Regions from separate parts of the Homo sapiens genome. Here region 1 is linked to region 2. The links are contacts of gene promoters, found by promoter capture Hi-C in blood cells and fetal thymus (Javierre and others, 2016). All regions are on one chromosome and are shown on one strand. Each heading gives the region's core, a stretch centred on a gene start or on the middle of the fragment in contact. The rest is flanking DNA. Distances are from core to core; before and after follow the strand shown. Region 1 has its middle 52 kb from the start of SIAH1. Region 2 holds the start of N4BP1 (NEDD4 binding protein 1).

Region 1 (7,120 bases), core at 920-3,419, 170 kb before region 2:
TGCCTGAACAGATACGCAGTTGCCGCCTTCCTTGCGTTGTCCACACAGCTCCCCTGCCTGGAAGGCCCTGGCCGTCCTGATCGCCGGGCAGTGAGTTCCTGTCCTTCCTTCACAGGCTGCTCACGCTCCAGTTCTGCGAGGCCCTCCCTGACCTCCAGCCTAACTTTGAGCCCTGCTGTTTTCAATGCCTCTGTTTCTGTCATTTCACTTGTCTTTCTCCTTCTTAGGGAGCCATATTCTTTCCTATGTCCCTGTCCTTTGCATGAGGCATAGTGTCCAGGACACACTCAAAAATACCAAAAAATGAAGGCACGCTCCTTCCCTTCTCTCCCTCTACACCCGGGCCTCATTTAATTATGCACAGACTCTGGGAGTTGGCAAGTATTCACTTCAATTCCTCACTTTACAGATGAGGAAACCAAGACCCAGAGAGAGGAAGTGACTTCCCCAAGGTCACAGGCTGTTGATAGAGTCCAGACTGAACCCAGGTTTCTTTCCTCCCTGTCTTGCACCCTATTCCCTTCCCCATGCCTCTCAGAGTAGCCTTTCTCTTGGGGAAATGATGATTTTATTTAGCCACAAGGACCCTGTGATTGGATTAGGTTGTCCTCAAGACAACAGAGGGGGCCTCCAAGAAAGACATCTTTAATGGTGGAGGAGGAAGGAAGTGTAGAATAAGAATTGCTACAAACTTTGGTTTCCTCCTGTGTAAAACTGGGAGCCTGACCCCTGTCCTGCAGCAGTGTTCTGAGGATATGTGTTGATGTAAGAGCCGAGGTTCTCATTCATGAAAAGCTTATATCACATGCTTCTCTTGCTGGCGGAATATCGCTTCTTCAGTCAAGAGCTTTTATAATCTGGCCCAAATTACCTTTCCAGACTCATCTTATCCTATTCTAGCCCAACAGCTCACACTCCAGCCACATCTGGCTCCTCCCCTGTCCTAACCATTTCCTACCCTTTCCTCCTCTGTACCTATTTCCTCAGCCTGGACTAGCCTTTCCTCTCAATCCAACTATTGCATCCCCGGTCCATTTCTGGGTCCAGTTCAAAGACCACCTCCTCTGAGAAGTCTTCCCTGATAGCCCTCCTTTCTGTGTCTCTGACGGTTTGCTCACTCTTCTCCTTAGGCATGGCTTGGTCATTTCCATTTGGATAAATGTTCCTCTTCCTTTTACCCTGTGGGTTTCTTGAGAGCAGAGATCCTGTGCTGTCAATATCTGTGTTTCCTGCAGCTCTTAGGCAGCTCTAGTACAGAGCAGTTGCCCCATCCTGTCTGTGGTAAGCAAGAAATAAAGGCTTCCTGGGACAGAGTCAATGTGAAGAAAGATAACACCAGGCAGAGCCTTCAGGTGAAGCAGGAACATGGCTTCCAAGAACACTAATCATTGGTTTTGCAGAGCAAACCCCTAGCTGGCTCCTTTGTGTGCCTATTTTGGCCCAACTTTCACGTCAGCACGTTTCCACCATCCCCAAGCTGGAACTTCCCTCTGCCTCTCCGTGACTGACCCTTGCCTCACCAGATGTTTATTTTGCCTCCCAGGCTGAGGAGTTTAGACACTGCTCTTGCAATAGGGGCCCCAGGCAGCTGTGTGACCTTGGCATGTTACTTTGCATCTCTGAGCCTTGGTGCACCTCCTCTGCAAAACAGCAATTTAAAATAGCACCTGACTCCTGGGTTGCTGTGTTAATTAGATGAGCCAAGACATGGGAGGTGCCTAGCCCAGTGCCTGACACGAAGTAAATACTCAATTAAAGATGGAAAAAACAAAAATAAACTCACTTAGTATGTGTTTCCCTCTGTGTTGCCAAAACCTGTTCCTGGACCCTTGCCACCCATCTTGCTGTTTGGCGAGTCTTGCTTGGGGCAGTTTCCAGCTGCCCCCTGCCGGGAGCACCCCTGATGGAAACCTGGGACCCAGGAAGGAGGAGGTGCTGACACGACTGTGAATCCACGGTCACCAAGCTGCCCCTTGCCCAGACTGTGGGTAAAACCTACATAAGTAACAGATCTACAAAGTATTAATTTTTTTTGTTTTGTTTTTTTGAGATGGAGTCTCACTCTGTCGCCCAGGCTGGAGTGCAGTCGTGTGATCTCTGCTCACTGCAACCTCCACCTCCTGGGTTTAAGCGATTCTCCTGCTTCAGCCTCCTGAGTAGCTGAGATTACAGGCACATGCCACCACGCCAGGCTAATTTTTGCATTTTTAGTAGAGACACAGTTTCACTATGTTGGCCAGGCTGGTCTCAAACTCCTGACCTCAAGTGATCCACCTGCCTCGGCCCCCCAAAGTGCTGGGATTACAGGCCGTAGCCACCGCGCCCGGCTTTTTTACTTTTTAAAGATCTAATGTCACAAATGGGAAGAATCCTGCCTTCTGGGAGGCCCTCATGTGTGCCTGGCCCGGAATCAGTCCCATCCAGCAAGGGCATTGATGAAAATTCTCAGGACATCTAACACAAAGTGGTGCTTCCTGGCACTTGTGGCTGCACCAGTACGAGGCTGATCTGCTGCTTGGCTCACCTCCCCAGAGCAGAGCTCCTTTCTGGCCCTCTCTAATCATGGCCCATTTCCAAGAAGAAAATGACAACAAAGTCCTAGGCAAAGCATTGGAGTCCTGGCCTTGGCTTTAACCTCCTGGGACTGATTGCATCCCTCTCTGGCTCTCCCACCTGGAGGGCAATTCCCGCCTGCAGTGGAAAGCAGTAGCTGTGTGCAAGTCTTAAAGTTCTCAGTGGCATATTTAGAAATAACAGAGGGAATTAGGTTTCATAAAACCATCTATTTAAGTGGCTCCAAATTAAGCCCCATTGTGATCTCTCTCTGTCTCTCTCTCTCTCTCTCTCTCTGGTTCCTTATATCCTGATTGTTCATGAGAGGCCCCATAGGACATGTGAGAACACCCCCTTTTTTTTTTTGAGACAGTCTCACTCTGTCGCCCAGGCTGGAGGGCAATGGCACAATCTCGGCTCACTGCAACCTCCACCTTCCAGGTTCAAGCAATTCTTATGCCTCAGCCTCCGGAGTAGCTGGGATTATAGGCGTGTGCCACCACGTCCAGCTAATTTTTTGTATTAGAAACCTTTTTTTTTTTTTTTTTTTTCTGATAAACCAGCAGAAAGGCATTAGTCCTGGTAACTAATCAAGTCAGGAATTGCCGAGAGGAGGGAGAAGGGGAGGTGCAGGGCCAAGGCTGGGACTATTAACACATTTGGATTTTTGGAGGAATAGTTTATTACTCCTCCTCCTCCAGCTCCTTCTATATTCAAGGGTTTTCAAGCGGGAAAAGTTGAGGTCTTGGCCTTGGGTGACTTTCATAGCCACATGACCTTAGCAATGGATTGGTTGATGCAGAACTTCTCATTGATGACTTTGTAAACCCTTGGTTAGCTCACTGCTGTCTTGCTGCTTCTCTGTGTCAGAATTAAGAAACTACTCTAGGTCTTTCAACAGTGGGAGTTTAACACAAGGAATTGCTTACATAGATAATGGAAGGATGAAAGGCTGAACGGGATAGTGAGGAACACAGCTTAGCACCAGCAGGAAGCTTCTTACTCCAAGGTTGAGGAGATGAAGCCCAGAAGCCAGTGTTGGTGGCAGCAGCTAGAACCATGGCAGGGCTGCCCGTGAGAGCTCGCCCCATGGAGGTGAGGGTTGTCTGGCAGGAGTCAGAGCCACAGAAGGGCTTGGAACCATAGATGATACACAGCCACTGTGGAAGATGCAGAGCAAGAGGGGGGAAATGGTTGATCCCCACATCTCACCCTACCGTACTCTGGTCTTGTACCATTTTCTCCCAACACACAAAGCTATGGAGAGCCACTTGACAAGGGAGCCTGGGAAACACAGCTTCCTGCAATATAGAGCAGAACATTGGAAAGGCAGGGAATAAGCTGGGAGCAAACAGTGGGCCATCTGTGTAACACAAGGCTGCTGGATGAAATGGCTGGGAAGTAAGAAAGCACTGCAGAGAGGAGCTGAGGGGGCCATGGCAGGCTGGATCCCATTGAAAGCCTTACAGCAGTGTTTCCCAAAGTGTGGGATGCACTGGGCCACCTGAGCTGGCAAAAAGACCAGGCAGAGCATGAAGGAACAGTGTATCAGTAAGAAAGCTAGTCTATTTTCAATTCTCTTTCCCATCATCTGACGACATTAAGGAGAAAGTCTCTATTTGGTGCTAACCTGTCTTTAACATCACTCTAACATTTTCTAATTTCTTTTTTCTTTCTTTTTTTTTTTGAGACAGAGCTCTGTTGCCCAGGCTGGAGTGCAGTGGTGTGATGTAGGCTCACTGCAACCTGCAACCTCCATCTCCTGGGTTCAAGCAATTCTCCTGCCTCAGCCTCCTAAGTAGCTGGGACTACAGGCATGCACCACCACTCCCAGCTAATTTTTGTATTTTTAGTAGAGACGGGGTTTCACGCTAGCCAGGCTGGTCTCAAACTCCTGACCTCAAGTGATCCACCAGCCTCGACCTCCCAAAGTGCTGAGATTACAGGTGTGAGCCACCGTGCCTGGCCACGTTTTCTCATTTCTTTTTAACTCCAAAAGATAGCAAACCAGACAGGTGTGGTGGTTCACGCTTGTAATCTCAGCGCTTTGGGAGGCCTATGCGGGAGGATTGCTTGAGTCCAGGAGTTCAAGACCAGCCTGAGTATCATAGTGATGACCCCCATCTCTACAAAGAATAAAAAATTAGCTGGGCATAGTGATGTGTGCTTGTAGTCTTAGCTACTTGGGAGGCTGAGGCAGGAGGATCCCTTGAGCCTGGGAGTTTGAGGTTGCAGTGAGCCATGACTGTACCACTGCACATTCCAGCCTGGATGACAGAGTGACACCCTGTCTAAAGCAAAAAGAGAGGAAAACTTAGGTTAAAGCCTTTGGCTGGTACTGGTATAATAGATGCTGCTGGTCCTGCCTAATCCCCGTCACCTAGTTGATACATTCACCTCCCAGCTGCTGTGAATGTTGGCAGCTAGCACTTTACAGCCACACCCTTCTTTTGGAAATTGCCTCACCTGGAAATAGGTGGGAGATTATACCATCATCCCGAGAGGAAGTATGCGGCAACGACTGATTGATGCCAGGCACAAAAGCCCAGCCCTCATGCCTTGAGGTGGTTCAACTCTGGTCCCATTCCTGTTCCAGAGCTTCAGCTGGCCCCACGCCTTTGCTTAGCCTCTTTCTGTTTCCCTCCCTCCTTCACCAGGAGTCCCCCCTGTAAATCACTTGCACAAGAATCCCCACCTTATACTCAAGCCCTGGCTTGACTTCTAGAGAATCTAAGATAGCAGGCAACAGGAGCTAGCTGGAATTGTGTAACTTTAAAAATTATTCTTTTTAATATTTTTGCCTGTGTTGATTTATGATAAGGTATAAAGGTTTTCCATTTATAGTAGTGCTAAGTTTTCTGTAAGTGTAATATTATTTTTAATTTATATATATATATAATTAAATTATAAAGACCATGGGCAACATAGTGAGACCCATCTCTACAAAAATTAGCAGGGCGTAGTGGCATATACCTGTAGTCCTAGCTACTTGGGAGGCTAAGGCAGGAGGATCCCTTGAGCCTGGGAGGTCGAGGCTGCAGTGAGCTAGGACTACACCACTGCACTCCAGCCTAGGCAACAAAGTAAGACCCTGTCTCAAAAAAAAAAAAAAAAAAGGCAGGGGTTGGTAGAAAAAATAAAAAATAAAAAATAATTATCTGGGCATGGCGGCATATGCCTATACTACACTACTCAGGAGGCTGAGCTGGGAGGATCCCTTGAGTCTCAGGAATTCGAGGCTGAAATGAGCTATGATTGCACCACTGCACTCCAGCCTGGGAAACAGAGAAAGTCCCTTTCTCTAATAATATATATGTTATTTTTATTTTTATATTTTAATTTATATATAAATATATATAGGTCGAGTTCTGTGGCTCACGCCTGTAATCCCAGCATTTTGGGAGGCCGAGGCGGGCAGATCACCTATATTAGGAGTTTGAGACCAACTTGGCCAACATGGTGAAACCCTGTCTCTACTAAAAATACAAAAATTAGCTGAGCGTAGTGGTGCATGCCTGTAATCCCAGCTACTCGGGAAGCTGAGGCAGGAGAATCGCTTGAACCCGGGAGGCGGAGGTTGCAGTGAGCCGAGATCTCACCACTGCACTCCAGCCTGGGTGACAGAGCGAGACTCTGGCTAAATATATATAAAATATTTTTATAATTTTTATACTACTTATTTTTTATATTTTATAATATTTATTTTTATTCTATTTTTATAATAGTTGTATGTATTTTTATAATATTTAATATATACATATATAATTTTATATATGTAATAAAATAAAAAAAATAACTTTTTTTTTTGAGATGGAATCTCACTCTGTCGCCCAGGCTGGAGTGCAGTGTCGCGATCTCACTGCAGCCTCCGCCTCCCGATGTTGCTCACTGCAACCTCCGCCTCCCAAGTTCAAGCAATTCTTGTGCCTCAACCTTCTGAGTAGCTGGGATTACAGGCACATGCCACATCTGGCTAATTTTTGTATTTTTAGTAGAGATGGGGTTTCACCATGTTGGCCAAGTTGGTCTCAAACTCCTAGCTTCAAGTGATCCACCCGTCTCAGTCTCCCAAAGTGCCAGGATTACAGGTGAGTGCACCCGGCAGAAATGGACTATTAATACTTTCAAAAACTTGGATGGACCTCAAAAGCATTATGCTAAGAAACTCACAAAACTAGGTGCTGTGTGATTCTTCTTCTGTGAAACTTTAAAAAGGCAAAATTACAAGGACAGAAGGAAGATCAGCATTGCCAGGGGCTGGGAGGGGAGGAGAGGGACTGCAAAAGGGCATGGAGGACCTTCTTGGGTAACGGAAATATTCTATATATTGTAATTGTAGTGGAGGCTATAGACTACATACATTTATCAAAATGTATCAAACTATACACTTGAAATGGTAAATTTTAATGTACATAAATTATACCTTATAAAGCTGATTTTTTATTTTTTTTTGAGATGGAGTCTTGCTCTGTTGCCCAAGCTGGTGTGCAGTGGCATAATCTCAGCTCACTGCAACCTCTGCCTCCCGGGTTCAGGTGATTCTCCTGCCTCAGCCTCCTGAGTAGCT
Region 2 (6,524 bases), core at 1,408-3,907:
GGAGGATTACTCTAACACAAGTTGAACCAGGGAGGGAGGGAGCAATGAATGAGTAAAGGCAATGGAGCAAGGGAGGGGACACACAGGAATGAAAGTCTTAACCGCAGCAAAGGCAATAGAAAGGAAAGGAATGAATGCACGTAAGAGATTTTCAGAAGAAAAAGCAGGACTTAATCATGTCAAGCTTTTAAGCCCTGAGAAGTGCAGAAGATTGGATAGCTGGGGAGAATGGACGAAGGGGAATGCGCCTTAGACCAGCTGTCTGCAATCCAACTGACTAAAAAAGTTAAGCCCAGGAAAGCAAACTTGGTTCTATATCTACAATGCTGGCTTTCTGATTTGTTTTGTTTTGTTTTGTTGAGACGGAGTCTCGTGCTGTCGCCCAGGCTGGAGTGCAGTGGCGCGATCTCAGCTCACTGCAACCTGCCTTCCGGGTTCAAGCGATTATCCTGCCTCAGCCTCCCGAGTAGCTGGGCCTACAGGCGCGTACCACCACGCCGGGCTAATTTTTTGTATTTTTAGTAGAGATGCCACTGCACTCCAGTGTGGGTGACAGAGTGAGACCCTGTCTCAAACAGAAAAAAATAGGTAAATAAACATACATCCTTTCTTTCTGACATTCTCCGAGCGTTTTATTACTATTAATGGTTTTTTTCCGATTCTCAAGAACACGGTTTTCACCGTGTGACACAGGACAGTCTCAATCTCCTGATCTCGTGATCCTTCCACCTCGGCCTCCCAAAGTGCTAGGATTACAGGCGTGAGCCACCGCGCCCGGCCTACAATGTTTTAAGTTAAGCTTTGAAGAACTACACAGCTGAGTGCCCCGTCTCCTTTAAGGATGTGAAATGCAAACACTCACGATTTTTTGTTAAATCTAAGAACATCAGGAGATACGACTACTCAGATTCAAGGACACTGACATTACTTGACAAAGCAGGATGCAAAAAGAGGGCCCTTCCTGCCCACCCCGCAGACAGGGCTCATCATATGAGAGGCAAGTATCAAGAACGAAGGCTCTGGAAACAAACTCCCTAGGTCTGAATCCTGCTGCCCTACTTAGGAGATGGAAAAACCTAGAGAAACTTGGTTACCTAGGAGGAGCAACATACTGTGTTGCTTTTTGGTTTGGAAAGGGGGGGAAGTAGATAGAGGTGCTGAAGAGGTCTGAAATGCTGATTTAGGCAGAAGGTGAGTCACCACTTTGAGTTTCAGTTTCCCCAGCTGTTAATTAAAAAAAAAAAAAAAGGCGGGGTGGTGGTGGGGAGGATAAAATCTACCTTATTAGAAGCCATAAGGGCTGCACATTCCTTCTGAAGCAACCTGTGATGTTCTTAAGCGTTATGTAAATGTTAGTTGTAGGTAATATCAATACAAAGAATAACGCTATTTTTTGTTAACATATTAAATATCCGGCCGGGGTGGCTCCCGCGTGTAGTCCCAGCACTTTGGGTGACCGAGATGGGAGGATGACTTGAGTCCAAGAGTTCGAGACCTGCCCGGGCAACATAGTGAAATCCCCTACCAAAAAAAAAAAAAAAAATGAGCCGGGCGTGGTGGCGCGCTCCTATAGTACTAGCTACTCGGGAGGCTGAGGTGGGAGGATCACTTGAGCCCGGGAAGTCGAGGCTGCAGTGAACTGAGACCGCGCCACACTGCACTCCACTGTGGGTGACAGAGTGAGACCCTGTCTCAAATAGAAAAAAATAGGTAAACATAAATCCTTTCTTTCTGACATTCTCCGAGCGTTTTATTACTATTAATAGTTTTTTTCCGATTCTCAAGAGGAACTGAGATCCCAAAAAGGCTCAGAACTGCAGTAGTGGAGGCCCGGGACTGGGGGATAAAGGCTTAGGTGGTGGACGAGGCTGCGGGCCCAGCAACAGGCCTTGCGTACCATCCTGGGGGCCGGGGAACTGACAACAACAGGCGACATGCGCAGCGCACCCGATCCGTGCCACACGCTGTGCCTGCGCTTCATACACATCCCCCACTTTCATCCTCGCGACAGCCCTCTGAGGTAGGTACTTTCGTCAGCGCCACTTTACAAATGGGGAAACTGAGGCTCCGGGGATCAAGCCGCTATCCAAGGTCACATGGCTCGCGAGCCGAAAAGGCACGTTCGCTGGCTCCCGAGACTGCGTTCCCAACCCAGGCGCATCGCGGCGGACGGCGGGGGCGGGGAGGAGCGGGAGCCCGGAGACCCGGACCGATCGAGGCCGCGGGCGCGCGGGGGCGGCGGCCGGACTCACCTTGGCGCTGTGCACCGCCTCCTGCGCCCCGCAGAGCTGCAGCCAGATGCGCGCGGGCAGCGGCTCCTCAGCCCCTAGCGCGCCGAGCACGGCTAGGCTCACGCCAAACAGGCCCTCGATACGGCCGCGGCTCTGCTCCAGCAGCTCCGCCTTCTCAGCTGGCGCAGTGAACTCGTCCAGCACCGCCCGGGCCGCCATGGCGGGCGCGGCCTCCCGCGGCGGCGCCGGGGGCCGGCGGCGGCGACGCCCCCTCAGCTTGCTGCCGCTGCTCCCAAGCCAGTCAGGCGGCGTCGGCCCTTCCCGGCCGCCTCGCCCCCGCCCGCGCCCCGCCGCCCGCCCTCAGGCCCGGCTATACCATCCCGCCACGACCGCAGCAGCTTGGCAATTGCTGGCAGCGAACCCCTCCGCCCCTTTGCCGCCGCCGCGGGCCGGGCCCCGCCGCCGCGCATGCGCCCCGGCCGCAGCCGTCATTGAGGCTCGCCGCCCCCTAGGGGAAGGGAGTAGGGTGAAGGCGACGGAAGTTGACGTCACCCTCAGTCGCCATGTTGGTTGAGAATAAAGGGATGGTTTTGGAGGCCTGGGCGGACTTCTTTGATGAGGGGAAACCGCTTTCGCGGGATCTGGTGGATGTAGATATATGGGTTTATAGTTGGGGAAACTTAATTGCCAGGAGGCGAGACTGAGAGTGTCACAGGGATTGGACTTGACCTCAGACATCTTGACGCTCAAACCAGGATTCTAGCAGTTGAGTTATTCAGTTTCACGTTAATCCACAGGCAGACGGGACTTTTCTTTCTCTGTTTCTTCCCTTCCTCCCTACCCTTTTACCTTCTTAGCTGCCCTTCTCACTTTTTTCTCTTTCCCTTTTTATTTCTTTCAGTAAAAATGGTAGCAAGAAGAGAAGAAAATGGGCATACTTACGGAGAATTGAAAATCAAAAAAATGATTAAGATAAATTCAAGAAGGCCGGGCGCGGTGGCTCACGCCTGTAATCCCAGCAGTCTGTGGGGGCAGAGGCGGGTGGATCACTCGAGGTCCGGAGTTCGAGACCAGCCTGACCAAAATGGAGAAACCCCCGTCTCTGCTAAAAAAAAAAAAAAAAAAAAAAAAAAAAAAAAAAAAAAAAAAAAAAATTAGCGCGGCGTGGTGGCACATGCCTGTAATCCCAGCTACTAGGGAGGCTGAGGCAGGAGAATCGCTTGAACCCTGGAGGCAGAGGTTGCGTGCGGTGAGCCGAGATTGCGCCATTGCACTCCAGCCTGGGCAAGAAGAGCGAAACTCCGTCTCAAAAAAAAAAAAAAAGATAAATTCAGGAGAGTGATTTCTTCTGTGAGGGAAGAAAGGGGATATGTTATGGGAGAAGCCCGAAAAGTGGGAGTTTGGGGGCTCACTCATGATCTTCCCTGGGACTGGAGCAAATAAACCCTAACCCCTCTCCAGGTCTGTTTTCTGATCTGTAAAATAAAAGAGTACACTCAGTTATCTCTAAGGCCTTTTCCAGGCCTTTATATTCTCTGAGTCCATGAAAACAGATTGTGGAAGATAAAGTGTTGGATTCCTTTCCTTCAGCTAAATATTGTGGCTATAGTAGATAGGGGCTCTGGGAATATTACCTCTCTCTGTTTTAATTTTTCATCTATAAAATGTAGATAATAATAGTACTTCCTATTGTGAATATTAATACAGCACCCAACACTGTAAGTGCTCACTGAACATTATTATTGCTAACTTAAGCAATATATTTAAGGCCTAATTTTCAGGGAAAATCTTTGTGTGGATTATGCAACCACAGTGAACTTGTGGGCCCAGGAGTCTGTGCCATCTGTGTACATCCCTGCTAGAGGAAAAAGAGGAGGAGCTAAAGATGCTGTAGTTGGAAATACCAAGGGGGAATGGTCTCTGTAGGAGGATTTACCCAAGGTAAAACCTATGAGAGATCCAGGCTTCTGGGGGTTTCCATATGTCTCAGAAACTCAGGTGTGGTCTCCCAGTGCCCCACCAAGAAGTGATTCAGCACAGGGAAGAGAACCACTAGGCTCACAGATCAACAGATTCCTGCTCCCCTGGGCTTTTCCCTTGATGTCCACACAACCAGCAGCCTTGCTCCATCAGGTAGATGACGTGGGATTGGCTGAGGCAGGTCAGGTGGCGAGTGTGGCATTGCTGATGCATTGCTTGCAGAACCGCAGTCTATCAGTAAGGCATGTTGTCAACACAGCATGTTATTTCCTGCCTTATTGCACTCACCTTAAACGGAATTGCTATTGTTCAGTGATTAGACAGGGCTTTCCCCAGGGCTGGTTCCTGTTTGCTCCCAGTGACTTCCCTGCTTGCGATTCTTAATTGCTTAATTGTAAGAGGTGAAGAGGGAGGCTGCCTTGAAAAACACACCACAGTGCCTTCCTCTCCCCACTTCCCTCCAAAAAAATCCCACCCAAAACCAACAGAAGCAGTGCATACACACACCCTTAAAAAATGCTGGGCCAAGAAGCTGTGCTAATAAGTCACTGGGTTGGTGTATAATTGAAGATACATAGTTTTGGGAGGTTTTTCCTCCAGTTTTAATTTAAGACTTGCCAGGCTGGGTGTGGTGGCTCACACCCGTAATCCCAGCACTTTGGGAGGCCAAGGAGGGCGGATCACTTGAGCCCAGGAGTTGGAGACCAGCCTGGCCAACGTAGTGAAACCCCGTCTCTATTCAAAATATAAAAAATTAGCTGGGTGTGGTGGCACATGCCTGTAATCCTAGCTACTCGGGAGGCTGAGGCAGGAGAATTGCTTGGACCCCGGAGGCGGAGGTTGCAGTGAGCCAAGATCGCGCCACTGCACTCCAGCCTGGGTAACAAGAGCAAGATTCCATCTCAGAAAAAAAAAAAAAAAAAAGACTTGCCAGTTCATATTTGATCAGCATTTCCCTTTAGGGAACTCTCAAGGTTTCCTGAGTGTAAGGAACAAGGAGAAAGAGAGAGAGAAAAAAAAAATCCCCTTTCAAGAACTTCCTTGCTTCATGCTGTTTCTCACTCAACCACAACTTCCCTCGGTTAACCAGCCTTGCCTATCTGGCTGGCCTGACCAGCCAGGACAGTCGATGCCAGAGATGAAACCTTATGAATTCTGTATTCTAGATACTTTAGCTGTGTTTTTCCTTAATCTCATAACAACCTCAAGAGCCCATAAAATGGTATTGAGAGAATCACTTATTTTTGCTTCTCATATTTTCAAGGACAGGAGGAGATTCCTATTCCATTCCCCAGCGGGGCCAAGTGTGGAGGAACATGTCTATCTAGCTTTCATTCTCCTTTTCCCCAGAGCAGGAGGAGGATTTCTCTGACTGATAACTTTCTGAGAAGGTGGGGTGCTGGGTTGGACCGCCCTGTACCCTGGTAATGGGCTGTCTGCAGTTGCTGTGTTAGTGACTGGGGGTAAAGTATTTTCACTTCAACCACATCCTCCAGTCTAGCTCTTGTCAGCAATGATGATGACATTTTGATCTCTACCTGCTTTTCTTCCTTAGTTCTGAACTCAGAAGGGGCAGAAAGAGTGTTTATTGGTCTCCTAAAACTCCAACAGTGGTTGCTATTGTTTTTCTTCCTGTTTCAAAGATGAGGAAACCAGCCGGGGGTGGTGGCAGGTGCCTGTAGTCTCAGCTACTTGGAAGCCTGGGGTGGGAGGATTGTTTAAGCCCAGGAGTTCAAGGTGTGCCTGGGCAACATAGCGATATCCTGTCTCTTACCTGCCCCCCCACAAAAAATGTAAATTAAGGGGGAAAAAAGAGGAAACAGAAGAATAGAGAAATTCTGGAATGTTCCACAGAGCTAGTCAGTGAAGTGGTAGAAATAGCCATTTGAATCCAGGCAGTCTGACTGTAAGCAGGCAGCTTGGCTTCAAACTGCATTTTAAAACCTTGTTTTCTTTCCTTCTTTCTCCCCAGTCTCAAGATACAACTTTGAGACAAGCTGCATATGTGTTTCCTGTCATCTTGACATACAGCCTTGGAATGGACTGTGAACCTCCACTCCCTATCCTTCCCCATTCCATTCTCCCATGCCATATGCTCATTTATTTACCCAAACACTCGTCAAGCACATACCATGCTCACTTATCTGGTCATGTATTTCCTTAGAAGCCTCAGGGGCTGGATTTTTTTTTTTTTTTTTTTTTTTGCGATGGAGTCTTGCTCTGTCTCCCAGGCTGGAGTGCAGTGGTGCCATCTCAGCTCACTGCAACCTCTGCCTCCCGGGTTCAAGCAATTCTCCTATCTCAGCCTCCCGA

What was found. The method cuts DNA at HindIII sites, captures the fragments that hold promoters and counts their contacts. A CHiCAGO score of 5 or more calls a contact.
Region 1: a contact is called between a fragment that was not itself captured here and the fragment with the promoter of N4BP1 in region 2, in 5 of 17 cell types (neutrophils, monocytes, M1 macrophages and 2 more). The highest score is 9.3, in neutrophils.

What each region holds. Positions count from the first base shown.
Region 1 is chr16:48,433,592-48,440,711 of GRCh38, forward strand. No RefSeq gene overlaps it. Among named protein-coding and RNA genes, the nearest start is that of SIAH1, 52 kb to the left of the region's middle. The HindIII fragment of the contact is 2,753 bases long and covers 794-3,546 here.
Region 2 is chr16:48,607,523-48,614,046 of GRCh38, forward strand. N4BP1 (NEDD4 binding protein 1) reads right to left here and starts at 2,658. Exons shown (of 7, transcript NM_153029.4): 1 at 2,253-2,658. The coding sequence starts at 2,450. LOC124903687 (a long non-coding RNA gene) reads left to right here and starts at 2,788. Exons shown (of 2, transcript XR_007065063.1): 1 at 2,788-2,996; 2 at 3,133-3,691. RefSeq lists enhancers at 1,789-1,838, 2,789-2,838, 2,849-2,928, 4,121-4,200 and a silencer at 2,149-2,748. The HindIII fragment of the contact is 6,560 bases long and covers 798-6,524 here.